Regions from separate parts of the Homo sapiens genome. Here all the other regions are linked to region 1. The links are contacts of gene promoters, found by promoter capture Hi-C in blood cells and fetal thymus (Javierre and others, 2016). All regions are on one chromosome and are shown on one strand. Each heading gives the region's core, a stretch centred on a gene start or on the middle of the fragment in contact. The rest is flanking DNA. Distances are from core to core; before and after follow the strand shown.

What was found. The method cuts DNA at HindIII sites, captures the fragments that hold promoters and counts their contacts. A CHiCAGO score of 5 or more calls a contact.
Region 2: a contact is called between a fragment that was not itself captured here and the fragment with the promoter of HEATR6 in region 1, in 1 of 17 cell types (activated CD4 T cells). The highest score is 5.0, in activated CD4 T cells.
Region 3: the fragment with the promoter of APPBP2 here is called in contact with the fragment with the promoter of HEATR6 in region 1 in 2 of 17 cell types (naive CD8 T cells and neutrophils); the score reaches 5.5 in naive CD8 T cells.
Region 4: a fragment that was not itself captured here is called in contact with the fragment with the promoter of HEATR6 in region 1 in 2 of 17 cell types (M0 macrophages and M1 macrophages); the score reaches 6.3 in M0 macrophages.
Region 5: a fragment that was not itself captured here is called in contact with the fragment with the promoter of HEATR6 in region 1 in 3 of 17 cell types (naive CD8 T cells, naive CD4 T cells and M0 macrophages); the score reaches 6.2 in naive CD8 T cells.
Region 6: a fragment that was not itself captured here is called in contact with the fragment with the promoter of HEATR6 in region 1 in 2 of 17 cell types (activated CD4 T cells and megakaryocytes); the score reaches 5.1 in activated CD4 T cells.
Region 7: a fragment that was not itself captured here is called in contact with the fragment with the promoter of HEATR6 in region 1 in 5 of 17 cell types (M0 macrophages, total B cells, neutrophils and 2 more); the score reaches 6.6 in M0 macrophages.

What each region holds. Positions count from the first base shown.
Region 1 is chr17:60,076,818-60,080,468 of GRCh38, forward strand. It overlaps HEATR6 (HEAT repeat containing 6), which reads right to left and starts at 2,104. Exons shown (of 20, transcript NM_022070.5): 1 at 1,879-2,104. The coding sequence starts at 2,097. It overlaps HEATR6-DT (HEATR6 divergent transcript), which reads left to right and starts at 2,492. Exons shown (of 2, transcript NR_135648.1): 1 at 2,492-2,655. RefSeq lists a silencer at 1,761-1,890. The HindIII fragment of the contact is 13,067 bases long and covers 1-3,651 here.
Region 2 is chr17:59,620,017-59,623,667 of GRCh38, forward strand. It overlaps CLTC (clathrin heavy chain), which reads left to right. Exons shown (of 32, transcript NM_004859.4): 1 at 1-157. The coding sequence starts at 116. Among named protein-coding and RNA genes, the nearest start is that of CLTC, 1.9 kb to the left of the region's middle. The HindIII fragment of the contact is 1,938 bases long and covers 309-2,246 here.
Region 3 is chr17:60,524,193-60,527,843 of GRCh38, forward strand. It overlaps APPBP2 (amyloid beta precursor protein binding protein 2), which reads right to left and starts at 2,050. Exons shown (of 13, transcript NM_006380.5): 1 at 1,602-2,050. The coding sequence starts at 1,739. RefSeq lists enhancers at 961-1,669, 1,390-1,659 and a silencer at 1,740-1,879. The HindIII fragment of the contact is 8,801 bases long and covers 1,413-3,651 here.
Region 4 is chr17:59,665,844-59,669,494 of GRCh38, forward strand. It overlaps CLTC (clathrin heavy chain), which reads left to right. Exons shown (of 32, transcript NM_004859.4): 11 at 260-397; 12 at 637-801; 13 at 954-1,134; 14 at 2,934-3,097. Among named protein-coding and RNA genes, the nearest start is that of PTRH2, 40 kb to the right of the region's middle. The HindIII fragment of the contact is 4,362 bases long and covers 1-3,651 here.
Region 5 is chr17:60,463,073-60,466,723 of GRCh38, forward strand. It overlaps APPBP2 (amyloid beta precursor protein binding protein 2), which reads right to left. Exons shown (of 13, transcript NM_006380.5): 5 at 3,219-3,387; 6 at 949-1,038. Among named protein-coding and RNA genes, the nearest start is that of CHCT1, 42 kb to the left of the region's middle. The HindIII fragment of the contact is 1,418 bases long and covers 955-2,372 here.
Region 6 is chr17:59,710,306-59,713,956 of GRCh38, forward strand. All of the region lies in intron 1 of VMP1 (vacuole membrane protein 1), which reads left to right. Among named protein-coding and RNA genes, the nearest start is that of VMP1, 4.5 kb to the left of the region's middle. The HindIII fragment of the contact is 1,418 bases long and covers 1,338-2,755 here.
Region 7 is chr17:60,430,806-60,434,456 of GRCh38, forward strand. CHCT1 (CHD1 helical C-terminal domain containing 1) reads left to right here. Exons shown (of 6, transcript NM_181707.3): 6 at 376-621. The coding sequence ends at 461. It also overlaps the pseudogene RPL12P38. Among named protein-coding and RNA genes, the nearest start is that of CHCT1, 10 kb to the left of the region's middle. The HindIII fragment of the contact is 7,385 bases long and covers 1-3,651 here.

The sequences.
Region 1 (3,651 bases), core at 854-3,353:
TTCTAGGGTATGAAAGCACAAACTGAAGCTAAAAATATCAAAAGGTAAGTGAACCAGATTTTCAATGCCATTGGGAAAAATCAGACCTAACACTTCTATGGATTTTATGCATAATTAGGGAATTCTTAAAAAAAAAAAAAAAAAAAGAGGGACCTATTTGCAAGTCACACTCTTCATCCATCGATGTTTATAGAATGACAAGGTTCTGAGCACCTACTATGTGTCATAGTGTGCTAGGTCTTTGGGCTCCAAAGGTAAAACAAACATGTTCCTGAACCTCAAAGAGCTCACAAACTAGTGAGAGAGAAAGAAACACAACAAATAATTAAAATAAGGTGAATCAAGTGCTGAAAGAATAAAGTACAAACTCTGTCCAGAAACAGTAATTAGGGAGGCCTTGTGGAGGTGACTGTAAAGCAGAATCTGGAATGATTTGAAGGATGAGGAGAAATTTGCCAGATAGGGCATCAAAAAACACTGCAAGCAAAGTGGACAGAGTATGCAAAAACCTGGAGGTGTGAAACACTAGTAGGTGCCTGAAGAACAGCAAGTTTTAAATGGCTGCACACAGGAACAAAAGGGGGAGTAACAGGAGAGAATGGAAGTTTTGTTGCAAAAGTATCCAATTACACAAATACAGCAAAAGTCCCCGACTACTGCCTTAATCTCACTCTGCTTCCTAATGACATACACTATTATTCTGTAGTCAATTCTTTCAGACCTTTTACTTTGCATATATAAACACACATATTTTAAAATCCCTCCTCCAGCTTCATACTGATCTCATTCTGTATGAATTGTCCTGCAACTTGCTTCAACCATTTACCAATACGTATTGAAGACTTTTCCAAAGCAGATTTTAAAGTTTATGAACAATTTTTTTTCCTCCTAAAGAAAAGATCATTCTGGCATTGGAGGAATGACTGGCTTGGAGAGGAGCTAGACAGGAGGCAGGAGATCAGTCAGAGGGGATCAGCGAACAGTCCAGGCATAAGTCGCCTTGCCTGAGGTCTAAGGCACTCGCTATGGGAATAGACAGGAGGGGATGAACTGAGAAATATATATGAGACACATTCTGAAATACCTGAGTTGGTCAGGATCTGGGATGAAGGAGGGAAGAACCAGTGTTTGTGTCTGGTGTGACTTGGTGGATGATGCATGTGTGTTGGAAGGTGGGATGGACTGGGGACGGGAATGCGTGTTTGGAGCTAATGAATTTCATCTTTAGGAACTGTCTAGTTTGAGATGCCTGTGCAAGCAGGCAACTTGCACCACTTCCCTCTTTCCTACGTAGGGCCAGAAGGCCATGGTGTCAACAGTTCAGAGAATTCATTAATTTAAGGCCTGATGTGTGTAAGATTACTCAGAAAGACGGCAGAGGGGAGGAGCTAGTGTGTAGGAACAGAAAACATAGGGGCTTTGTGGCAGAGTTTTGTATACTGTATTTTTACGAGCTTCAGTATTTTCATTAGCAAACAAGCCCTAATACTACGCAAGTTCTAAGATTCCCACGTGGTCCGTGTACCATGTACGCAATAAACAGTAGTAATGCATTTTGTCAACCAAGTGTTCTGGGTGCACAGAGAGGGAGTGAAGGAGGGTGCGGGCGGATGGAAAGTTGGTATCAGAGAGGAAACCCGAGGCATTATCAGAGCAGGAGTCGTCAAGTTGGGTTTTGAATGACTCGAGCGTGCCAAGCACTGCAGGGTCTTCCAAATGGAGAACTAAGAATGTGCCAAGGTTGGAGGGGGCACGCCATCCTGAAACTAAATCATCAGGCGCGAGAGTGGGAAGATCAGGGAAAGGCAGGCAGAGGCCACCAGCTGGGTTCCCGGAGGGGTGGGGCCGGGGCCGGGGCCAGCAGGGCGCGCCGCCTACCTCCGGGGCCACGCCACTGCCCTCGCTGTAGTTCTCGGAGATGAGCTGATCGAAGAGCAGGTGGATCTCGGTGCGGGCGGAGCTGCTGTCATCCGGGCGCAGGGCGCAGAGCCTGGCAGACAAGAGGCGAAACCCATTGCCTCGCTCAGGGATTGCTTCCCGCGGTGCCTCCCGCGGCTGCACGGAAGGCCACGAACCGACAACTTGCACAGCAGCCATCTTTTCTACGGGCGGGGGGGGTGGGTGGGGTGATCCCAGGGAAATACTTCCGGGACATCCTCCCGTTCCGCGCGCTCTAGTTCCGAAAGTACCTTTTTTAGACCGGACTGGGGCTCAGAGGGGTTTCCATGACTACGGGACTCCTCCGACCGGTACCCTGCAGATGCTTGTCAGAAATTGGCTTGGAGGCCGGGCTCGGTGGCTGACGCCTGTAATCCCAGCACTTTGGGAGGCCGAGGCGGGCGGATCACGAGGTCAGAAGATCGAGACCATCCTAGCTAACACGGTGAAACCCCGTCTCTACTAAAAATACAAAAAAAAAAAAAAAAAAAAAATTAGCCGGGAGTGGTGGCGGGCGCCTGTTGTCCCAGCTACTCGGGAGGCTGAGGCAGGAGAATGGCGTGAACCCGGGAGGCAGGGCTTGCAATGAGCCAAGATCGCGCCACTGCACTCCAGCCTGGGCGACAGAGCGAGACTCCGTCTCAGAAAAAAAAAAAAAGAAAGAAATTGGCTTGGAGATTTTTCGCCGGCCACTCCTTCTTGAGCCCTGACTGAAAAGTGAGTTCTCAATTTGTGCTTCCAGAAAGTTTGTCCTCCCAGAGTTTGTTCCTGGACAGGGCTGAAGGTACTCTGTTCCGTACTAGAGTTTCAGATTCGGGCTGGAGTTGGAGAGGGTATGCTGTGGATGGCAGTAGCAGAAACCGCTAGTTCTAAGGCACCCTTCTACTCTTCTAAAATCTTTCCCCAGGCACAAAACCACCCGGAATAAAGGCTACGTTCCCTAGCATTCCTTGCAGTTGGCTGTGGCTCTGTGATTGCAATCTGGTCAGTGGAATATAAGGCAGCTTTCCCTACTTAAGTGACAGCTGGCTGTACTCTTGGTTCCTTTTTCTCCCTTTTTCCCAGTGTGAATCCTCTCATGGATCATGAGGCACCTCGCCCCACTAGAAGAGTAATTTTGGAGTTTAACTGAATCATGTAAAATATAATCTGCCTAAGAGTGACCGGGTTGAAATGAGACACCCCAAGATTTTCTGAAACCTTGAAGTCAAGAAGCTGGAGAATAAAATGGCCATTTAAAAATCTGTGATCACTTTTCAGTCATCCAGGAAGTGAAGGCTTGACTTTCACAGTTGGGCAGATTGGGAAAACCATCTCTAGGGCCTTTGAGTTATGCAAATATAAAGCAAATCCTCACCCTTGGCCCTTAGGGAAAACCTTGAAGTCACCTGAATGTATGTTTTATCCTGAGAACAAAACATTTCTGTTCAGCAGTGAAAATTGGGGGTATGCTTTAGCAGAGGTAGTTTTCTGAAGACTTTGGGCTTGGGGAGAAATGTTAATTTTTTTGTTTGGATTTAGATTCCGTTGTGCTGGTATATTATTTCTTATTCCTAGTCTGTGTACATATGTGCGTTATATATGTGCATGTGTGTGTGTGTATTCGTGTAAAGAAATGTATTCAAGCATTTGTTCAGAGAAGATCAGGAGCTGAAACCTAGTCGTTGGATATTTTAATCTGGGTTCCCTGATAGCAGAGCCTCAGATGAGGTT
Region 2 (3,651 bases), core at 28-2,527, 460 kb before region 1:
ATCCTGCTGAGCCCAGCCTCCCCCCTCCCCTTCTCCTCCTCTCCCTTGGAGAGCCCGGGCAGCCACTGCCCCGCAGCCCCAGTGACAGGAGGAGACCATAACCCCCGACAGCGCCATGGCCCAGATTCTGCCAATTCGTTTTCAGGAGCATCTCCAGGTGCGGCCGGGCCCGGGCTGGTGAGGGCTGTGGAGAAGGTGGTAGGAAGGATGGAAGACGCTGGAGTCTGGGCCCGAGCAGTATCGGAGCTGGAGGGGCGGGGGGGTTGTCGGTGATTGGGGTAGGTGGAGGAGGGGGCACTATCTTGGAAAGCTTAAAATATTAAATGATGTGGGGCTTGGATGGAAAGGACAGGAGTTGGGGTGCAAAGAGCTGCAAGGACCAGGCCTGGATCCAAAGGCCTCTCGATCTTGCTTCCTGGATGGCCAGAACTGCGCGTACAAACTCTCTCCCCATTTTATTCATTTCATTCATTTGGGTAGGGGAGTGGGAGGGGGATTCTCCCTTGTTTCTACCAGAGCAAGGATTCTTATCCCCTGGGCCAGTGCGGGGCTGTCACCTTCCATTGCTCTCCTCTTTCCCTCATCGTGTCTGCACCCAGGAGTTGTGGGGCGGGTGGGTTGGGGAGGAGCAACCTTTTTTTTCCCTCCCTCTGCGGCTCTCAACTGAGAAAGGCACCTTCTCCGGTGGTGGGGGTTGGGGGTGGTGGTGAGGCGGTGGCTTTTCTCTTGCCTTCCCTGAGGCAGTAGGGACAGAAGGTCACTGAAAGAACGGAACGAGGGTAGAATGGGAGAACGCATTTCTTAGAGCTATGTCAATCTCAGAGTGTGTGCGGTCAAACTCCCTAAGGAAACTCGCCTCCCCTTCCCCCTTTTTTTATTTCTCTGGGGATGTTGTGGCTCTTAACCCCTCTTTGGTTCTGGAAGGTAGGAAAGAGTGATACAGAGGTTATCTTTTAGTCTTCTCGAGTAGTAGCAGGTAGTTTTGAATATCTTCTTCAGGATCGCATGGAATTGAACAGAGCCCTGGGGACAGCACAGCTGCTCTGAGACCTGCAGGGCTATTTGGTCTGTGACTGGCTTCCCTTTAGTAAGTTCTAGAGTTCTTCCCCATGGTTCCTTATCCTGGAGGCAACATATTGTTATCTGGCAACATGCCAGTGGCGGGCCTAGGCAGGTGACCATTGGAAGGCTTCACTGAATTAAACCTCTTCAGAGCTTTTGATTTTCCTGTGTCACCAATCCTGTTTTTTACTGTAGCTTAAATAATTTATTCCTATTAATTTGCTTTCTTCCCAAATATCCCCTTAAAGAAACCTGCCTCAGCTCAGTCGTCTGAAGGGCTAATTCCATAATGACAGGGAATGCAGTGGTTTGACATGACACTGATATCAGTGACCTATTAGACACTTTACCATTGAAGACCATTTTTATTTACATTTCCCCATTGGCATAGCATACATAAAGGATTCTTGTTAATAAAAGGTTTTAACATTCAGGCTATAAGTAACATAATTTCATATTTCTTTGCAAGTATTACCATGTTTGCACTAGCAAGGACTTATTTTCCTTTAAGGCTTGAAATGTAAAGAATAATAAATTTTTACCCATAAAATGAGTTAAATAATGCACTTTCCTCAGTCATCTATAATTTTCAAATAACTCATCTGAAGTAATGGAATATACCTTGGCAATAAAAACACTTTTACAGAGGGTTAAAAATGTTAAATAACAAAATGGACATTTTTTTTTGATCAATCCAAGTTTAGTTGCTGTGGTTGCTTTTGTTAAAGTGGGGTGGCAAATGAATGTGGAGAGTTGAGGGGTGCTGTTCTTAAGTGTGAGGGGAAAACGCGGGCTTATTTTCATATTAAACTGCATCTGAAATATCTTTCTGCAGACAAATGTTTATAAACCACACAGAGAATCAAGTACAGCTGCTCTTTATTTTCCACGGCAGATGTGTAGCTCACTACTAAATCTTGTGGTGGTTGGAGTAATAGCTTTTCATTTCTTTTAAAGAGGAGACAAGAATTGTTAAATGATCCCAAAGATTCGAACCCAACCTTGTCACTTATTAAAGACAAATTTAATACATGTCTGTTTTGTAACTGGATCAAAGTTTCTGCAGATGCTTGAATGAAGCCATTTTCTTCTCAAATAATTTGAAGATTTTGAATATAAAGCGATTTGCAAATTGAAAAATTCAGTCCTCTGTGTTTTGGATTGCTATGTCATGCCTAAACTTAAGCTTGCTTAGCTAATATGACTGTGCTCCAGTTGATTAATTGTGGAGCCCAAATAACTACAGCCTCTTTCATGATAATATATCTCCTAACTTCATATCATTATCTCCTCCCTTTTTAAAAATTAATAAGCATTTTGTTTTTTTGAGGAGACAGGGTTTTTGCTGGAGGTCAGTGGCACCATCACAGCTCACTGCAGCCTTGACCTACTGGGCTCAAGCCATCCTCCCACCTCAGCATCCTGAGTAGCTGGGACTACAGCCATGAGCCACCACACCTGGCTAATTTTTGTATTTTTTGTAGAGATGGAGTTTCATGTTGCCCAGGCTAGTCTCGAATGCCTGGGCTCAAGCAATCCTTTGCCTTGACCTCCCAAAGTGCTGGGATAATAGGTGTGAACCACCGAGCCCAACTAATAAGGATTATTTTAATTGGCATCTTTGGTCTTTGACCTCTGAGCTTCTACCAGTTTGCTAAGTAGCAGAAAACTTTCTGAAACACGTAGGATAAAAACTGGAAACAAGAAATGGGGAACTTAAGTGTGAGTGTAGAGTTACCTTGTGAAACTGTAAATGAACTTATTTTTATACCCTTTAACTACATTGTCCAACTGAAGGATCTCTTGTCATCAAAGCTTGGACCTACAGCAAATGAATGTGAATATATGAAGATTTCTCTTTTCCTAGACTGTTTAGACTGATAGCAGTTAATAAATGAGTGCCTATTTGAGCAAGATACTGTTGGAATTGAAGATTCTATAAAAATCCTAGGCTACATATATAAAATATTGCCTGTGATTCTTAATTTTTTGGTGATTTTCAATTTTCTGGCACATTAAGTATCTTTAGGCCACTTGACACATTCCATTGTATTCCTAGATTCTTTGGGTCTTCAATTAAAAATCTCCCTACCCTGTTCTTTCCCCTTTGATCCATAGATGCAGGCATGGAATGTGTTGTTGAGTCAAATGTTAGGGGTTCTTGCTATAGTTAGTTCGGATTGTGAATAGAAAGCAATGCTAAGTACTGGGATTTACTACATGCTTAGTTGTACTCTCTGGAAGAGGTAGACTTCCTGGAATTATGCGGCAGTCTCCTGGGAATAGCTTCTAAGTTTAAAATGTATCATATTCTTCAGAATTTTCTTGATGGTCAGTTTACCCAGCTTAAAGTGTGTGGTTAATTTTAGTGAAAGTGCTTTCACTCTGATTAGGAAATAAGACACAGAATGGTGTGTATGTAGAACACAATCATTTTCATTTGAGTATTTAGGAAAATTCACATTTCAGGAACCATGGTAGTTGCTCTTGAACAATTGTTTCTGACCATAATTGGAATTTGTACCTTGCTTTTAAAAGATTCCATTTATATCGAATCCTCAGCTTCTTTGCAAAATTGTTTTTTCCATA
Region 3 (3,651 bases), core at 800-3,299, 450 kb after region 1:
AAAAGATATTCAAGTATTTTGAACGAATTCAACTAGTAAATACACTTGGATTACATTCCCAATGATTTCCTCTGAGAGATTACATATGAGGTACAAGATTACACATGATTTAATAAAATGGACAGAGAGCACACACAAAGCTGCAGTTTCCCAGGCTGAGAAAGACAAATCTAATTTGTCCTTCCTGGGGAGGAATGTATCTTAAATGAACAAAATTTCCTTAGAATACACAAAAGTAAATCAATGTATCAAAGGGATTAGGAAAAAAGGGAGCTTTTTCTCGAAATCCAAAATAATAATACGCATGACCTAAATGAATCTTCTCCAAATATTTAGGGGGGAAACCCCACTTTAATTGTTAGAATTGGTGCAAAGCAGCTGGATTTAGTAGAACGCAGCCCATCAACTGCTAATTCTGAAAAAAAAAAAAAAAAAAAAAAAAAAATCTAGGGGTGGAGAAAGCAGGCAATCTTCCCAATAAAACAACTGCCACAAAACACTGTACATACGTAAGAACATAAACATCTGTTAAAATATCAGTTTACACTGTTCCAGCCAACTTACAGATCAAGAGGAAGTATTTAAGGTCTAAAAAATAAATTACATTCTACTTTTAGTCACATTTTGCATGGGTGGCTACTGGACACTAGGAGTTATCGACGCGGATTCAAGACAAGGAAGACTGAATAATAAATCCAGTGTTCACATTCAAATGTGGGGGAGAGAAAAGGGCAGGCTCTGAGTCCATAAAGTTCTCCACACTCTGAAAACACTGCAAAAATAGTCCACATCTAAGGACACTTACCCTTGAAACTCCTTGGAGAGTGGCTTGGGAGACTTGCTGTTCAGATTTTTGAGGGGGAGTGATTTAAGAATGCTGCAAGATTGCAACTTTCAAACACAGGAACATAATCTAAAGTGTTTTTTTCTTTCAGTAAAGATCTCTCCCTGTCCTCTTCAAACAGTTGATCAGCACTCCCATTTTCACAAAATCCCTAATTCAAGTATAGAGCCCCTCCTCTCCCACAAAAAAATCAAAGCTTTAAAGAATATGCAAATAAAACACACAGATTATTTCCAATAATCCCTAACTCCTTCCCAATTGGGAAAAGAAAGGAGAAACGAAGGAACACGAAGCAAAAACACCAAAACACTCGGGGAAGGAAGGCGGCGAGATGAGAAAGTAGGAATGGGTGGGGGGAGGAGCACGGAAAAAAGTCCAGCTGATGCTGACACTTAATTGGAAGGAGAGGATGGAAAATATCCTGAAGATACGGGCTAGAAGGAAAGGACTAGGTGGGACAGGGGCGCGATAGAGTAAGTCCACGCAAAAGGCCTACCCAAGAGGGCCACTGTGTAGAAGGGAACACCAACAGGGAGCAAGACTCCCCAAGATTACTTCAAGGCCCCAAAGCTTAAGAGACAGGGCATAGGGAGATGGGGTGCTTCTCCACTGGCAATGCAGACACCGCACCAGACGTTTCGGGAGGCAAGTCTGCCGGAAGGGGTGAGGGGTTAACTGCGGGGGTTCGCAGACGTGGAAGGGGGTGCGGCCCCCGGGGTTGCTGGAGGAGAGCAGAGAGGAGGCCCACGGCGCATACCTTGTAGTAAACATCAAACTGGATGTTCTCGGGCAAGGAGCGGATGTCTCGGCGGGAGCGGATGTAGTTGTCCACGACAGCGGAGATGGCGGTGTTATAGAGAGTCTCTGGGATCCACTCTAGTTCCACGGCCGCCATCTTCCTTCCCTCCTCCTCCGCCTCCTCCGCCTCCTCCTCCCGAAGGCCCCCACCTCCCTCCGTAGCGAACCCCTCTGCGGCCCCGGAGGATTCGGAGGGGCGGTGGCAGCCACGCGGGCGCACGGCAGAAGGCACGGCCGCCCTGCCTCCTCCGGGGGCAAACTGAGGGACGGCGGCAGCGGACGCAGGCCCGAGTAAAAAGTGGGACAGAAAACAGCGGCCAGCCAGGCCAAAAGCGTCACAATCCCGGTTCGAGAGGAACCCGGGTTCCGTCCCAGCGCTGATCTCTGCAGGGGCGGGGCTGCGTGTGCGGCGTCATGACGTAAGCGCACGCCGGCGCGCCGGAGGGGAGGAATGCGGCAGGCGGAAAACTTAGGAAGAGCTGGATGCCTCCCACGGAGAGCGTCCCTTCCAAGCGGCCCCGGAGTGGAGTGGAGTGGAGTGGATAGGGGTAGACTTTTCACACGGGGACAAATTATTACAGGATATCTGCGCCCCCTGTTCCGAGTCACTCGGGGCCATCGGTTACTTCAGCAGGTTCTCTGCATCACGGACCCTTTTGAGGCTCAGGTAAAAGTTTGGATCCTCTCCCCACAAACGAGCAAAATTATCTGTACATTGAAAATTATGCATTGAGAAAATTCACATTACTCTAGAAACCCTTAGACTGCAGTTCCTAACCCAAGTTAAGAACCCGCGGTCCAGGAACTAGGGGTAACGATAGAAGAGAGACTTGTTTTTCTTTGTATAACCATTTGCACCGTTGTAACTTTTTGACCATGTTTCTTTATCCAAATGAAATTTCCGAAAAAAGAAAACTCCTGCCCCAGAACTTCGTAGGAAAACTAGCTTGATTATGGAATTACAAATAATAGTAAGAGAAAAAAGGCTAAGTGGTGGCCGTGATAGGACTTAATGGTATTTCAATTCCCAGAGTTACAGTGGCGGCTTCAAGGGATTGTTGAATAATTGGGAGTACTTGTTTCAGCTTCTTTCCTTCCTCAGCCTGAACATCTGCTGTTTATGTAACTTAATTTCCTAAGTCTGCGATTTCAAGAATTTGATGCAACATCTTTCTGTTCTAGGAATTTACCATGGAAATTATTGGCCATAATTGTTGGTGACACTATCAAACTCATAGTCACTCTATAACGATGTAAGTCCAGAAAACAGCCATAATAATAATGTCCTGATTGATATTTAGAGCTAAAAGAAGTGGAAAGAGTTATTTCAATTTACCCTTCACCTGGTACTTCAGTGTTAAGTGGTTAAATAATTCCACAAAAAATAAACACTCTTAATCTTCTTCAGTCTATATAAATTCTTACTCTATACTGTGAACCTAGGAAAGCTGTGGATGGCCTCAAGATCAGATTGCCAGTTTAGCAAGTAAAAAACTACAAGGCTGGGCGCGGTGGCTCACACCTGTAATCTCAGCACTTGGGAGGCCGAGGCGGGTGGATCACGAGGTCAGGAGATCGAGACCATCCTGGCTAACACGGTGAAACCCCGTCTTTACTAAAAATACAAAAAATTAGCCCGTGGTGGCGGGCGCCTGTAGTCCCAGCTACTCGGGAGGCTGAGGCAGGAGAATGGCGTGAACCCGGGAGGCGGAGCTTGCAGTGAGCCAGGATCGCGCCACTGCACTCCAGCCTGGGCAACAGAGCGAGACTCCGTCTCAAAAAAAAGAAAAAAAAAATTACAAGTGCCCAGTCACATCTTAATGTCAGATAAACAACAAATGGTTTTGAAATGTAAGTATGTTCTGTGCAATAGTTTTGCTCATGCCTTCGGAGCCACTCAAGTGTATCAGTTCATTCAGCAAATCCTTCATCACTTCTTAGACACTGGCGCTTTTGAAGATCAGGATCCCTGCCCCACATAAAAGAATAATTATTATCTCTGCAAATAT
Region 4 (3,651 bases), core at 354-2,853, 410 kb before region 1:
AAAATAAAATAAATAAATAAAATAAAATAAAGGTCTGTCGGTTCAGTTGTATTCTGCTGTTATGTAATATCTTGAAATATTTTGTAGTTGTTTTTATCAGAACTCAAAATAACTATGATCCCTAGAGGACAAAAATTTGTTCTTAAGTGTTTATATTGTCCAAATAAAATTCTCAGGTAAAGAAAGAGTTCATGCATAATTTTGTCTACATACTCTCCATAGTATCTTAAAACAATTTCTTTTAAATCTTTTTTTGTAGATTGTAGATGTCTTTATGGAATACAATCTAATTCAGCAGTGTACTGCATTCTTGCTTGATGCTCTGAAGAATAATCGCCCATCTGAAGGTCCTTTACAGACGCGGTTACTTGAGATGAACCTTATGCATGCGCCTCAAGTATGTGTTTTAATGCTTTTTAGGCATGTTTCCAACATTGTTTTAGTAATTGTGCAGCGCCTCTCAGATTGTTATGCAAAGCTACTGAGGGGCCTACTCCTTATTAAAGAAAATGTAGCTATTATAATATTCTTTTGTACTTTAACAGTTCACTATTAAACCTTAATCTGTAATACGGATATTGAATTACTCATGTAAGTGGAGTGGACAATAAACTTGCCTTGTTTGTGGTTTTACAGGTTGCAGATGCTATTCTAGGCAATCAGATGTTCACACATTATGACCGGGCTCATATTGCTCAACTGTGTGAAAAGGCTGGCCTACTGCAGCGTGCATTAGAACATTTCACTGATTTATATGATATAAAACGTGCAGTGGTTCACACCCATCTTCTTAACCCTGAGGTATTTCAGTTTCTTACCTAATAGATGGTGTTAGTTGTGATTAATAGGTACACTGAAAATGTGTTTGTGGTACTAAATATTAATAATTTCATACCACCATGAGGTTCAACATTATTTCATTTATTCATTCATTCATTTATTTTGTCTTGTAGTGGTTAGTCAACTACTTTGGTTCCTTATCAGTAGAAGACTCCCTAGAATGTCTCAGAGCCATGCTGTCTGCCAACATCCGTCAGAATCTGCAGATTTGTGTTCAGGTGGCTTCTAAATATCATGAACAACTGTCAACTCAGTCTCTGATTGAACTTTTTGAATCTTTCAAGAGTTTTGAAGGTAATTAGGAGTTTTTGAGTTTTTAAAAAAAGTACTTAAGGTAGCCAAGAAGAGGTATGCTTATGATCAGGCTGTTGGAAATTTTGTTTTTCTAAAAATTTGGTTCTATGGGACATTTTAATTTTTTAAGTTTTATTCAATATATGTCAAGGCCCTTTTATGTTGGATTCTAAGGATATGCAGTGAACCAGACCATCTGTTTGGATATTTTATAGATGAATTAAAGGTAGAATTTTAAGAGAAAAATATGTAGTGGTGTTGAAATTGTATAAAATGAAAATACAGGTTGAGTGTCCCTAATCTGAAAATCCAAAATGCACCAAAGTCCAAAACTTCTTGAGCACCAACATAACGCTCAAAGGAAATGCTTGTTGGAGCATTTCAGAAATCGGATTTTCAGATTAGGGATGCTGATCAGGTAATTATAATGCGAATATTCCAAAGTTCAAAATCTGAAACACGTCTGGTCTCAAGTATTTTGGATAAGGGATACTCAGTCTGTACTAATGATCAGGTATAATAAAATTTTATGCTTATATGTCTGACTCTTATAATAGCAGGTGATTCTCACTAAGGGCATTTTGTGATTTGTTGCTATTTAGCAGGATTTCTTAACCTTAGTACTATAGACATTTAGGGCTGGATAATCATTGTAGAGGGGTGTTCCTGTACATGTAGAATATTTAGTAGAATATTCAGCAGCATTCCTGGTTTCTACCCACTAGATTCCAGTAGCGTCAGCTCCACCAGTTGTGACAACCAAAAATGTCTTCAGACATTGCCAGTGTCACCTGTGAGGAAAATCACCTCAGTTGAGAACCACTGCTATACAGGGTACTAACGTAATCACTGTTGGGTGTCTAACTTCTGGTCCCCAACTGCCTTTCTCTCCTCTCTGTACTAGTAGTACTCTATTGAGAAGGGGTAAGAGAGTCTAGTAGTTTTCTTAATTTTTTCTTAATTTTCCCAGTTTCAAAATGTTAACTGTGCACTAAATTTACACTGTTTAGTACAGTCACTAGCCACATATAGTAGCTATTTACATTGAAAGTTATTAAAGTGAAATAAAATTTAATATTTAGTTATTCAGTCACTCTAGCCACATTTCAAGTGCTTAATAGCCACATGTGTTTAGTGGCTATTATATTGGAAGGCAAAGATAAGATTTTCATCATTGCAGAAAGTTCTTCTGGACAATACTGCACTAAATTCTTCCCAAATTATTTTGTATGTTTCCTATAAATTGCATATTGAAAAACACCAGGTATTGGGGTCTTCATTTAAAATTTCCCATATAGGGGCACAATGGTGTATGCCTTTAATAATCCCAGTGCTTTGGGAGGCCAAGTGCTTGGGGCCACAAATTCAAGACCAGCCTGGCTAGCATAGCAAGACACCATCTCTACAAAAATTTTCTTAAAAATTAGCCTGGCATGGTGGCATGCATCTGTAGTTCTAGCTACTTAGGAGGTTGAGGTGGGAGGATTGCTTGAGCCCAGGAGTTTGAGGCTGCAGTGAGCTATGATCGTGCCACTGCACTCCAGCCTGGGTGACAGAGACCTGCCTCAATAAAAAAGAAAAAAAGGAAACATTGGGTTGAATTGTCTATTCTTCAGGATTAAAGTGCAATCCATTTTACTGATCTGATTAATGGAATAGTTAGTATTTTTATCGCGCTTTTTAAGCAACCAACTTATATTTGGGAGTATTCAATATAACAGTTTTTTAATTACATAAATGTTTTTCAGTCATTCTCAAAAGTGTGCCTATGCTTAATTGTAATTACTTGTTTCTTTAAGGTCTCTTTTATTTTCTGGGATCCATTGTTAACTTTAGCCAGGACCCAGATGTGCACTTTAAATATATTCAGGCAGCTTGCAAGACTGGGCAAATCAAAGAAGTAGAAAGAATCTGTAGAGAAAGCAACTGCTACGATCCTGAGCGAGTCAAGAATTTTCTTAAGGTAAGTGGTTTTGAGTAATGTGTTTTCTGGTTGGATTCCAGGTTAGCAGTTCTACAAGGGTTTGGTCATAGTTCAAAAATATTTTTTCCCTAAATGTGAAGTTGTTAGCATTCTTAAGTTGTGTGCTGGATTATTTCTTCCAAACATAATATTCTGTGGTTTCCTTTGAAATACGGAAGGAAATTGGTGAGTAAGAATGACCATCTGTTTAAAAGAAGAAAAAAAAAATAGCACTATTTCAAAGGAATTTCCTTTATTTTAATTTTGGATGGAAAAATTTAGAAAAGTGGTTGTATACTTTCAATGTCATTTTAGAATCATTTAGGCTTTTGAATATTAACATCAGCTTGCTCTTCATACCATTTTGAGGAGCCTCTATTGTAGGCAAAGGGATCTGTTGTCTAAGGAATGTATAGGTTTACCTCTTTCATCAAGTTTGCTCAACTCTAGAAACTAAAATATTGTTATTCATATATAATTCATAAAGGTAAGATCAAACAAAACGCTCAGCTTTGTGACACATTAAATCAGTTAGAGAGGAGTAAGGACCACCT
Region 5 (3,651 bases), core at 414-2,913, 390 kb after region 1:
TGATAACTTAAATATTTATGCTGTTTACTTACTCTAAAATGACTGATTTAATAAATTTCAGAGAAATATTAGACTCTCTCAGATCTATAATTTTGGAATCTATTTTCTAGTTGAATTTCCATAAGTAAAATCAACCAAAATGAAATATTCAAATCTGAGAAACTTCAGGGTAGAAGAGTGTATCTGAAAAGTACATTAATGCTTTAAGTCCTCACTGCACCAAAGGAGTAGTTTTAAAATACTACTAAATGTCCTCAAAGAGTTAACGCAGGCCAACCGTGGTGGACCTGTAATCCTAGAACTTTTGGAGGCTTGCCTAGAACTTTTGGAGGCTCAGGTGGGAGGATCGCTTGAGTCCAGGTGTTTGAGACCGGCCAGGGCAACATAGTGAGACCCTGTCTCTATTTAAAATAAAATAAAAATGTAAAAGATTTAATGCATTTATTTACAGAATAAGAAAACACTAGAGAAAAATCAAGTAAGGACTGCCTAGCAGGTCAAGTATAGCAAGCTGCCTTGCTGTGAGACTGCAATACTATGACAAAGAGATTTAACACCAGGCTATCTTTAGCAGAAAAGTGACCAAAGTTCACAGGATTTTGGCATAAGGAATTCTGGTTGCTATAAATATTTAAGAAAAACAAAAACAAACTCAAGCCAGAATAGCACCCAAATACTACTTTGAGCTGTACTTTAGTGCACTGAAACAATGATCAAAATGAATTATTTCACTGGTTTTCTTGGTAAAGAAAAATTGGCTAAAAATCTATGTGTGATATAGTTTTAGTTAGAAACCAGATTTCTAAAAATGAGCACAGAAACTTATAAAACAGACCTATGCCTACGGAGTGTACAAATAACTAAAATGTTAAATAACAGGTTAATTAAAACAAACTTAAAGCCTGATAAATCCTATAATTCATTTAATAATTTTAACATTATATTTACCTTAGAAGCTTGTCTTAAGACATCCACCACAACTTTCACTGGTAAGCCTGCTGTAATTTCTTTCATTGCCTCGATGCACCATTTGTATGCCTAAAAAAATTATTTATAGAAGAGACAGAACTGTGGTTAAATCAAGTTGACAATATTTAACAAGATGACTGCAAAATTTTTCTACAAGCACTTAAATAAGAACACACACAAAATATTTACAGTTAGAATTTTCTGAGGCTAAACTTTCTTCAAAGTATAAATCTGTTATATTATTTTTACTCTTAATATCTATAGCTTATCTGAATCAGACGTTGTGGATACATGACATATCTTCTGGAAATCAGAGGTATGTTCTCTCTTGCCCAGAAGCCTTTGCACATACTGTTCCCTCTGCCTTAAAATACATTCCCCCTTCCTCCAACCCCTTAAACTCATCTGTCTTGTGGGGTTTCCTGTGTTTTCCTATACATTCCATCCTCCTATTGTAACATTTGTTATTTTATGTCTGAATTGTCTGTTTAGTTGAGTGTTTACTTTGTCCCAGCTACTGTCCAAAGTATTTTATGTGCATTAACACATTTACCTGACAAAACAGCCCTATAAGATACGTACTATTAGGGGAAACAGGTGTAGAGAGGTTAAGTGGCAGGTAATGTGCTAGTATCTAGGTATGAAGTGGGAAACAAAACCAAAAATGTCCTTCCTCTCCTGGTGCTTAGTGGAAGAAATAAAAAAGGCAAAATAAATTGTCTTAGGCTGGGTGTAGTGGTGCATACCTGTAATCCCAGCACTTTGGGAGGCTGAGATGGGAGGATCGCCAAGCTCAGAAGTTTGAAACCAGCCTGGGTTATAACATAGTGAGACTTTGTCTCTATCAAAAATCAAAAAAATTAGCTGGGCGTGGTGATGTGCACCTGTAGTTCCAGCTACTTGGTAGAGCTGAGGTGGAGGCTGCAGTGAGCCGTGATCATGCCACTGCACTCCAGACCTTGGTGATGGAGTGAGACGCTGTCTCAAACAAACAGACAAACAAACAAACAAAGACAAGTGTGGCCATGTGATTTCTTTCCACAATTAAAATATGAGAAGTGAAATGTGCCACTTCTGGAAGAAAAGTCCAAGAGCCGGCAGTACTTCTCCATGAAGTTTCTGCCCCTGTGCCCAGGCTGGTAATGTTCTAGATAGATACGTTCCAGATAGACCCAAAACCACGCTGTGTCTTGATCAAAGCGTAGGTATAATGTTAAGAACAGCCATAGCCATCTGAAGACAGGGATATATTATGAGCCAGAAAGAAACTTTTATTGTTCCAAGCTATTCTGGGGTTGATATTACCTCTGCATAACCTAGCCTATCCTAACACAAAAACATGATGCTAATTCATCAAACCATGTCTGTAAGATTTGTGTACTTTTCTGTAGATATCAGTGAAAAGCTTATTTATCACTAGAAGATTGAACTGTCAAAATTATCCAAGACTTCAACATTCCTCACGAATGTGCTGAGAGCTGCAAAGACATGAATAAGGCACAGTATAAACCCCTAAATCCAAATGTAGAAGGAAAATAACTGTCAGGCTGGGCATGGTGGCTCATGCCTGTAATCCCAGCACTTCAGGAGGCCAAGGTAGAGGATCACCTGAGCCCAGGAGTTTGAGTCCAGCGTGGGTGACAAAGCAAGATCCTGTCTCAAAAACTACAACACGAGGCCCAACCAAACAATTTAGGCAAATATTTGGTTAAATTAAAAGAAAAACAACAAAAGAAAGGGCTCTAAATTACACATGTATATATTTCAAATTCACCTCACAAACACTCCTTTTGCCTGATTTTTTATTTTTTTGAGACAGGGTCTCACTCTGTCACTCAGGCTGGAGTACAGTGGTATAAATATGGCTCACTACACCCTCAACTTACTGGGCTCAAGGGATCCTCCTGCCTCAGCCTCCCATGTAGTTGTGACCACCACAGGCGTGTGCTACACATGCGGCTAATTTTCTATAGAGGCAGGGTCTCTCTCACTTTGTTGCCCATGCTGGCCCCAAACTCCTGGGCTCAAGTGATCCTCTACCTTGGCCTCCTAAAGTTCTGGGATTACAGGCATGAGCCACAGTGCTCGGCTTGTCTGATTTTAAATTTTCCATTACAAATGTGTACTGCCTTATATAAACCTAATATGTAAAAGAGATCTGTAAGAAAAATAAGAGAAGACTATTTGATTTACCCTCTGTTTTTATAGGTACTTATTGGTCACAGTGAAATGTACCTTAAAACACTTACCTCATCATAGTGACTTTTTGCAAATAGGAGTGCACACAGTTCTCCATAGAGTGCAGCTTTATTTGCTTGCTGGCCATGTTTTGATAGTTTATCCATATATGTCTGAGCTAATTTAAATGTTTCTTCACCCAAATGATATTTGCAGTTTCCATTTCGCACATGAAGCAACCTATAAAACACCAATAACATTGCTCTATTTTTGATATTTTCAGCTTGGTAGACCTGATGACCTCTTACCAATCACCTGAATGACTTAAGGTAATTAAATACAATTACAAGGCAGCATTGAAAATAAGTGTGTGGCCCAAATTGGAGTTGACCTCATGCCCATAAAGAAGTACATGCTCTTTCCTGAAAGCGTCCCATAATTCATCTCATCAATTGTTGATTCCTTCTCTAAATATTTTATATATTTTATGTACTCAGCATGTAC
Region 6 (3,651 bases), core at 797-3,296, 370 kb before region 1:
CAGAAACAATCAGTAATTAGTAATTGGCTTGCTTGAGGTCATCTGGCTTAGGTAGTGCTAGAACCTGAACTGTAAGGTCTCAAGTGTTCTTTCTGTTCTAACAAGGTTGTATCCAGGCATCTTATTATGGTTTGGTAATATTTCCAAGTTCACATGAAAATAATTACTCTTAGGTATTAAAGGGATCTATCCACATACACACGTAAATACACACATACGCACATAAGCCTTATTTACAAACTTTTTTTCCCTCTTTAGCTAGTTTAGTCTTATAAATTGTAGCATAACAAAAACTGTGCTTGGCTAGATTTGAAGTGTAATAGATTAAGGAAAGAAAATCAGTTATATTCTTCAGAATAGTTTGTCTGAGTTCATGCTTCATGACTGTCATGTGTTGAGTTATCTTTCTGGCAAGTGGAAATGACGGAGGAGCCTTAACACGTGTCTACTGTGAATGTTGTTGCTAAAGAGTAGGAGAGAACTGGCCAGGCGCCGTGGCTCACGCCTGTAATCCCAGCACTTTGGGAGGCCGAGGCGGGAAGATCACCTGAGATCAGGAGTTTGAGACTAGCCTGTCTAACATGGTGAAACCCGGTGTCTACAAAAAATACAAAAAAATTAGCTGGGTGTGGTGGCAGACGCCTGTAATCCCAGCTACTCAGGAGGCTGAGGCATGAGAATCGTTTGAACCCGGGAGGCGGAGGTTGCAGTGAGCCGAGATCGCGCCACTGCACTCCAGCCTGGACAACAGAGCGAGACTCCATCTCAAAAAAAAAAGAGAAGAAAATAAAAGAAAAGCAGTAGGAGAGAACTGTATTATTTGCTCTTACAAAAAAAAAAACCTCCCCAAGCTGTTTGTAATTTTAATATTTTGTTATGTTAATTATCTATTATATATAGAGCCATTTCTCTAGTTATTTTATTCTGGGTAAATAGCCATTGTAGAAGAGTTAATTCTTTGCATTGTTGGGTACTCTTTTTTTTTGGTTCCATTGATTTAACAAACTTTTTAGTCTCTTTAGTCTTTCTCGGAGATGATAGTTCTAGGTGCTACTGTCATTCCTGTTTTTGCCCAAGTGCCCTTGCTGTGTCTCCCATTTTGGTGTGGAAATGAACTCTAGATTAGAGAATCCTAATAAACAGGACAAATTGAAGTGATAACTTTGTCGTGGTTTTGTAAATTGTTACTCTGCTTTCACAAAGCCTTGCAAATATTTTGAGGAATAGTAAATTGCTAAGAGCATATTGCCTCAAGAAATTCCTTATTTTATATGGGAAAGCAGCTTTGGATGGAGTTTGCTGAACTGAAGTTAGGTATTATGTAGGCCCTTATATAAAGCTTATTTTAAAATATGCTCCTTGATTTGCAGCATCAAGGAAATTTGAACAGGAGATAATTTTCTGTGTCAGATAAAAGGTGATACTTAAAGTTTAAGGCATATTTAAATTAAGCAAGGGCAATCTATTGAGTAATTATATCACAGCTAATATACCTATAATTGCTCAAGAGTTTGTTTGTATTCTTGAACTACTTAATCTTTTCAGTAGTTCATGGGAGTATTTTCTCTTGTCCTTGAGTTTTTTAATGATAACTTTGTTCTTTATAGATTACCTGGAAGGACTAGGCAGGTAGTGTTAAAAGCCAGGGCTATAAAGCTAGACTGCTTTTTTTCAAATTCTAGCTCTATTACTATGCAACTCTTGGATTAGTTACTTTTTACTTCTTGCTATCTCAGTTTCCTCCTGGACAATGAAGTCAATACCCTTCTTGTTAGGATTGAATGAATAGGTTTAAATAAAGCATTTAGAACAGTGTCTGTAGCATATAGTTAACCATGATTGTGATCATTATCATCATGTGGCCCCCTAAGCTATTGCCAAGAACTCTTTCCCAGCCCTCTTTTAAAAGCATAGCTTTATGTTGCTGCTTACTTAATTATTGTTTGCTCATTATTAATGAAGTTCCAGTAAATAAATATCTGAGTATACACTTCACTTTGTCTATATTTTACAACATATGTGAGATTCTTAACCAAATGAGGCATTCTTTTGGGCCATTCTGTTAACTTTTTGGTATTAACAGACTACATTATCTGTGTAAGCCATAACACAGAATTTGGCAATTGAAACTTTTGATGTTTCATGATGTCTTTTAGCACTTTCTTGGAATGGAAAGATCATTTTCCAGTGACATCTATTGCCTTATCTGTTCATTATCCAGTCAGTGAACAAACATTTTGTGTCCCAGGCCTTACACCAGGTTCTGGGGAAAACAATGGGAAATAAGAATTGTTAGGAAGGCAGCACATGAGGGTCTAAGAGAGAGTTAACAATGTGGATATATGCTTATTTGAGGCTGGAGCATAATAGACTTGGAATACATTGACATGAGATGATATAGGAAATATATACAGGATCCAGGTCATGCAGAATTTTGCAGGCCAAGGGAATGAGTTTGAATTTGATTTTGAGTGCAGTAGGAAATCATTCTACAATTTTAAGTAGAGGAGTAATAGGATTTATAAGAAGTTCATTGTTGTTCATGTGTGAAGGATGAATTGAAGCGGGCAAGAACAGAAATGGAGAGAGAAGTTGAGAGTCCACTGCATAGTCCAAGAAGAAGATGAAGATGGTCTGGACTAGAAGGGTAGCAAAGAAGATGGACAGTTGTGTGTGGATACCAAATATATTTGGTATAGGACTTGGTCCTGGGTTAGATGAGTGGTAAGAAAAAGGGAAGTGTCAGGGATGACTAAGCTTCTGGATTTAGTGACTGGGTGGGTGGTTGTGCCAGGTACTGGGAGAAGGGAGGTTTGGAGAAGACCAGGTTTGTTTGTTACAAGAAGGTGGGTAGGTGTAGGGAGAAAAGGACATGTTAATTTTGAGACACTTAAAGAATCATCTATGGACACAGGAGGGGGGACATCACACACCGGGGCCTGTTGTGGGTTGGGGGAAGGAGGGAGGGATAGCATTAGGAGATATACCTAATGTAAATGACGAGTTAATAGGTGCAGCACACCAACATGGCACATGTATACATATGTAACAAACCTGCACATTGTGCACATGTACCCTAGAACTTAAAGTATAATAATAATAATAATAATAAATCATCCAAGTCACGCACTTACATATATAAATCTAGAGGTCAAAACCAGAAATACAAATACGGGATAGTATTTTCAACCATGGACCAGATGAGTCACCTGGGGAGATAGGGAGAGGAGAGGGCCAAGGGCAGGTAAAAGAAAGATCTGGGCTGGATGCAGTGGCTCACTCCTGTAATCCCAGAACTTTGGGAGGCTGAGGTGGGTGGATCGCTTGAGTCCAGGAGTTCGAGACCAGCCTGGACAACATGGCAAAACCCCATCTCTCTTTTTTTTTTTTTTTTTTTGTTAAAAAAAAGAGAGACTTTTTTTTTTAACAAAACGGAGACTAAGAAGGTATCTTAGGGCTGGGCACAATGGTTCACACCTGTAATCCCAACACTGAGAGGCCAAGGTGCGCAGATCACTTGAGGTCAAGAGTTCAAGATCAGCCTGGCCAACATGGTGAGACCCCATCTCTACTAAAAATACAAAAATTAGCTGGGCGTGGTGGTGGGCACCTGTAATCCCCACTGCTAGGGAGGCTGAGGCATTAGAATCG
Region 7 (3,651 bases), core at 525-3,024, 350 kb after region 1:
TGGCAATGGGGTTTGCAAACAGTACTGGGAATTGGGTCATGAGGCCTAGGAGAGGAGTAAGGAAGAATCAGAGGTTGGAGCCAGAGGTCGAGGAAACTCGGGTCTTGCCCTGACTCTTCCCCTAACTTGCTGTAAGACTTTGGGCAGGTCATTGCTTTACCCTGGACCTGGGTGACAGTCCTCATCTGTAAATTGGGGACAATGCCATCTCTCTACTGGGTTTCTGTGAGAAAAAACTAAGTGATATAGGTGGGAAGTAAGATAGGATTTTGCTATTCTTCCTCTCTGCCCCTACAACACCCCCCATGTATTACAGACTGAGATTCTTACTATTTGTGATGTCATTGGGACTGTCTCTGACCTTCTCTTTTTCAGATTCTTTAAGGGAGCTTTCTCAAAAACCAAAACTCAAGAGGAAGAGGATAAAGGAAGCCCCAGAAACTCCAGAGACTGAACCGTAAGAAGACCAACTGGGACAAAGGGCCCGCTTGTCCTGGCTCTCAGAGCACGGGGAATGGAGACCAAAAAGGGAAAAGAATTGTCCTTATCAAAAAGATTCTCAGGTCTTAATTAGGAATAAATGAGGTGGGAAATAAACATTCTTATGACAGTTCTACCTTACTTGACCAACAGTCATCATTCGTACATTTTAAATTTGTTTAAAAGATATTTGCCAGCCACCTTCTAAGTGGCAGGTGCCCCACATATGCACAGATGAATAAGATGTGGTCACTTTGTCAAGGACCATCACAGTCTAGTGGAGCAGACAGACATAGAAAAGACACGACAGCAGGGTAAATACAGGTGACTGGGGCAGGCCTCCGGGGAGTTAACAAAGGAGCTGGGTGTTTGCCAGTGGAGCACACAGGTGGGGAGGGAGGGAGCCTGGGGTCAGAGAATGGCAAGCCTGGCAGCCCGCCTGCATTGTCTGGACTTCATTTTGTGGGTAGCTTGGGATGGGCAGTGGTAAGGGAAGTGTCAAGTAGTGGAATGAATGGGTGTCACTACGGTATTGGGGAGATGCTCTGGTGACTGTGAGCAAAGTGCATGGAAGTGAGCGAGGCTAGAGGCAGGAGACCAAAGAGGAAACAACACCGATGGTCTTAGCTAACATGGTGGCTCGAGCCATCAGTCACAAATCCACAGCCTGCACACTAAAGTAAGGCTACTGATGTGTTTTGTTTGTCCTGGGTCATGTTCTACTTGTTGTTTAAAACACTTTAAGTCCGGGCATGGTGCCTCATGCCTGTAATCCCAGCACTCTGGGAGGCTGAGGTGGAGGTTTGTTTGAGCTCAGGAGTTCCAGACTAGCCAGGGCGATATGGGAAAACCCCATCTCTACAAAAAAATTAGCTGTTCATAGTGACGCACACCTGTAGTCCCAGCTATTTGGGAGGCTAAGGTGGGAGAATCGCTTGAGCCCATGTGTCAGTCTTTTCTCGCACTGCTAATAAAGACATACCTGAGACTGGGTAATTTATAAAGGAAAGAGGTTTAATTGACTCAGTTCCACGTGGCTGGGGAGGCCTCACAGTCATGGCAGAAGGCAAATGAGGAGCAAAGTCACATCTTACATGGCAGCAGGCAAGAGAGTGTGTACAGGAGAACTCCCCTTTATAAAACCATGAGATCTCATGAGACTTATGAGAACAGCATGGAAAAAAACCCACCCTCATGATTCAGTTACCTCCCACTTGGTCCCTCCCACAACATGTGGGTATTATTACAATTAGAGGTGAGATTTGGGTGGGGACACAGAGCCAAACCATACCATACCGCCCCGGCCCTTCCCAAATCTCATATCCTCACATTTTAAAACCAATCATGCGTTCACAACAGTTCCCCAAAGTTTTAATTCATTTCAGCATTAACCCAAAAGTTCAAGTCCAACATCTCATCTGAGACAAGGCAAGTCCCTTCCGCCTATGAACCTGTAAAATCAAAAGCCAAGTTAGTAACTTCCTAGACACAATGGGGTTGCAGGCATTGGGTAAATACACCCATTCCAAACGGGAGAAATTGGGCAAAATGAAGAGACTACAGGTCCCATACAAGTCCAAAATCCAACAGGGCAGTCAAATATTAAAGTTCCAAAATGATCTCTTTTGACTCCATGTCTCACACTGAGGTCATGCTGATGCAACAGATAGGTTCCCATGGTCTTGGGCAGCTCCAGCCCTGTGGCTTTGCAGGATACAGCCCCACTCCTGGCTGCTTTCACAGGCATTGAGTGTCTGCAGCTTTTCCAGGCACATGGTGAGCTGTTGGTGGATCTACCATTCTGGGGTCTGGAGGGCAGTGGGCCTCATCTGACAGCTCCACCAGGCAGTGCCCCAGTGGGAACTCTGTGTGGAGTCTCCTACCTTACATTTTCCTTCCATACTGCCCTAGGAAAGGTTCTCCATGAGGGCTCCACCCCTACAGCATACCTCTGCCTGGACATTCAAGCATTTCCATTCATCCTCTGAAATCTAAGTGGAGGTTCCCAAACCTCAATTCTTGACTTCTGTGCATCCACAGGCTCAACACCATGTGGAAGCTGCCAAAGTTTGTGGCTTGCACCTTCTGAATCTATGGCCCAAGCTGTACCCTTCTAGCCATGCTGGAGCAGCTGGGATGCAGGGCACCAAATCCTGAGCCTGCACACAGCAGGTGAGCCCTGGACCTGGCCCAGGAAAACATTTTTTCCCTTCTAGACCTCTGGGCCTGTGATGGGAGGGGCTTCCAAGAAGGTCTCTGACATGCCCTGGAGACATTTTCCCCATTGTCTTGGGGATTAGCATTTGGCTCCTCCTTACTTATGCCAATTTCTGCTGCCAGCTTGAATTTCTCCCCAGAAAATGAGTTTTTCTTTTTCTTTTTCTTTTTTTTTCACTAGTTGTCAAATGATCCTTTATTGAAATATTTTCCTTTGTGCTTAACTAGCTGGGCATTCCACAGCACCACTGTTGATGTCATCTATGATGTCATGAGGGTGGCGGCCATCAACATTACAACCCACAGAGACTGGGCAGTCCCCAGGATCTCTTTAATGGTTCCAGAGAGTTCTCTGGCTAAGGATCGGTGCTCCATCTGTCGAGCAAGGTTGACGATCTCATCAAAAGTGATATTCCCACTGTGTTTAATGTTTTTCTGTTTCTTTCTGTCTCTGGTGGTTCCTTGAGGGCTTTGATGATCAGGGCAGAGGCAGAAGGCACCACCTCAATCTGGGCCTGTCTGTTCTGAATGGTCAGTTTCACTGTAATCCTCAGGCCCTTCCAGTCACCCGTTGCCTTGGCAATGTCACCACCAACGTTTTTTGGAGACAGACCCAGGGGGCCGATCTTGGGGGCCAGGGCAGAAGTGGCATCTCCGGTGCACCTCAGGTATATGACTTTGATCTCGTTGGGGTCGAACTTTGGCGGCATGGTGGAGGCGGCTGGTGTCAGATGAACCCGGATTCGGGACAACCGAAGAAAGTTGCACCTTGGCCTCCTCCAAGCCGAAAGCCAAGAGCGAGTTTTTCTTTTTCTATTGCATTGTCAGGCTGCAAATTTTGTGAACTTTTTTTTTCCAAGCCAAACTGTATCCAGCTTTATTAAAGATACTTTCCATAAACAGTCATGGTATTTCAGGCAGGACATGGGCAGACAATCATTAACAGTATACAAC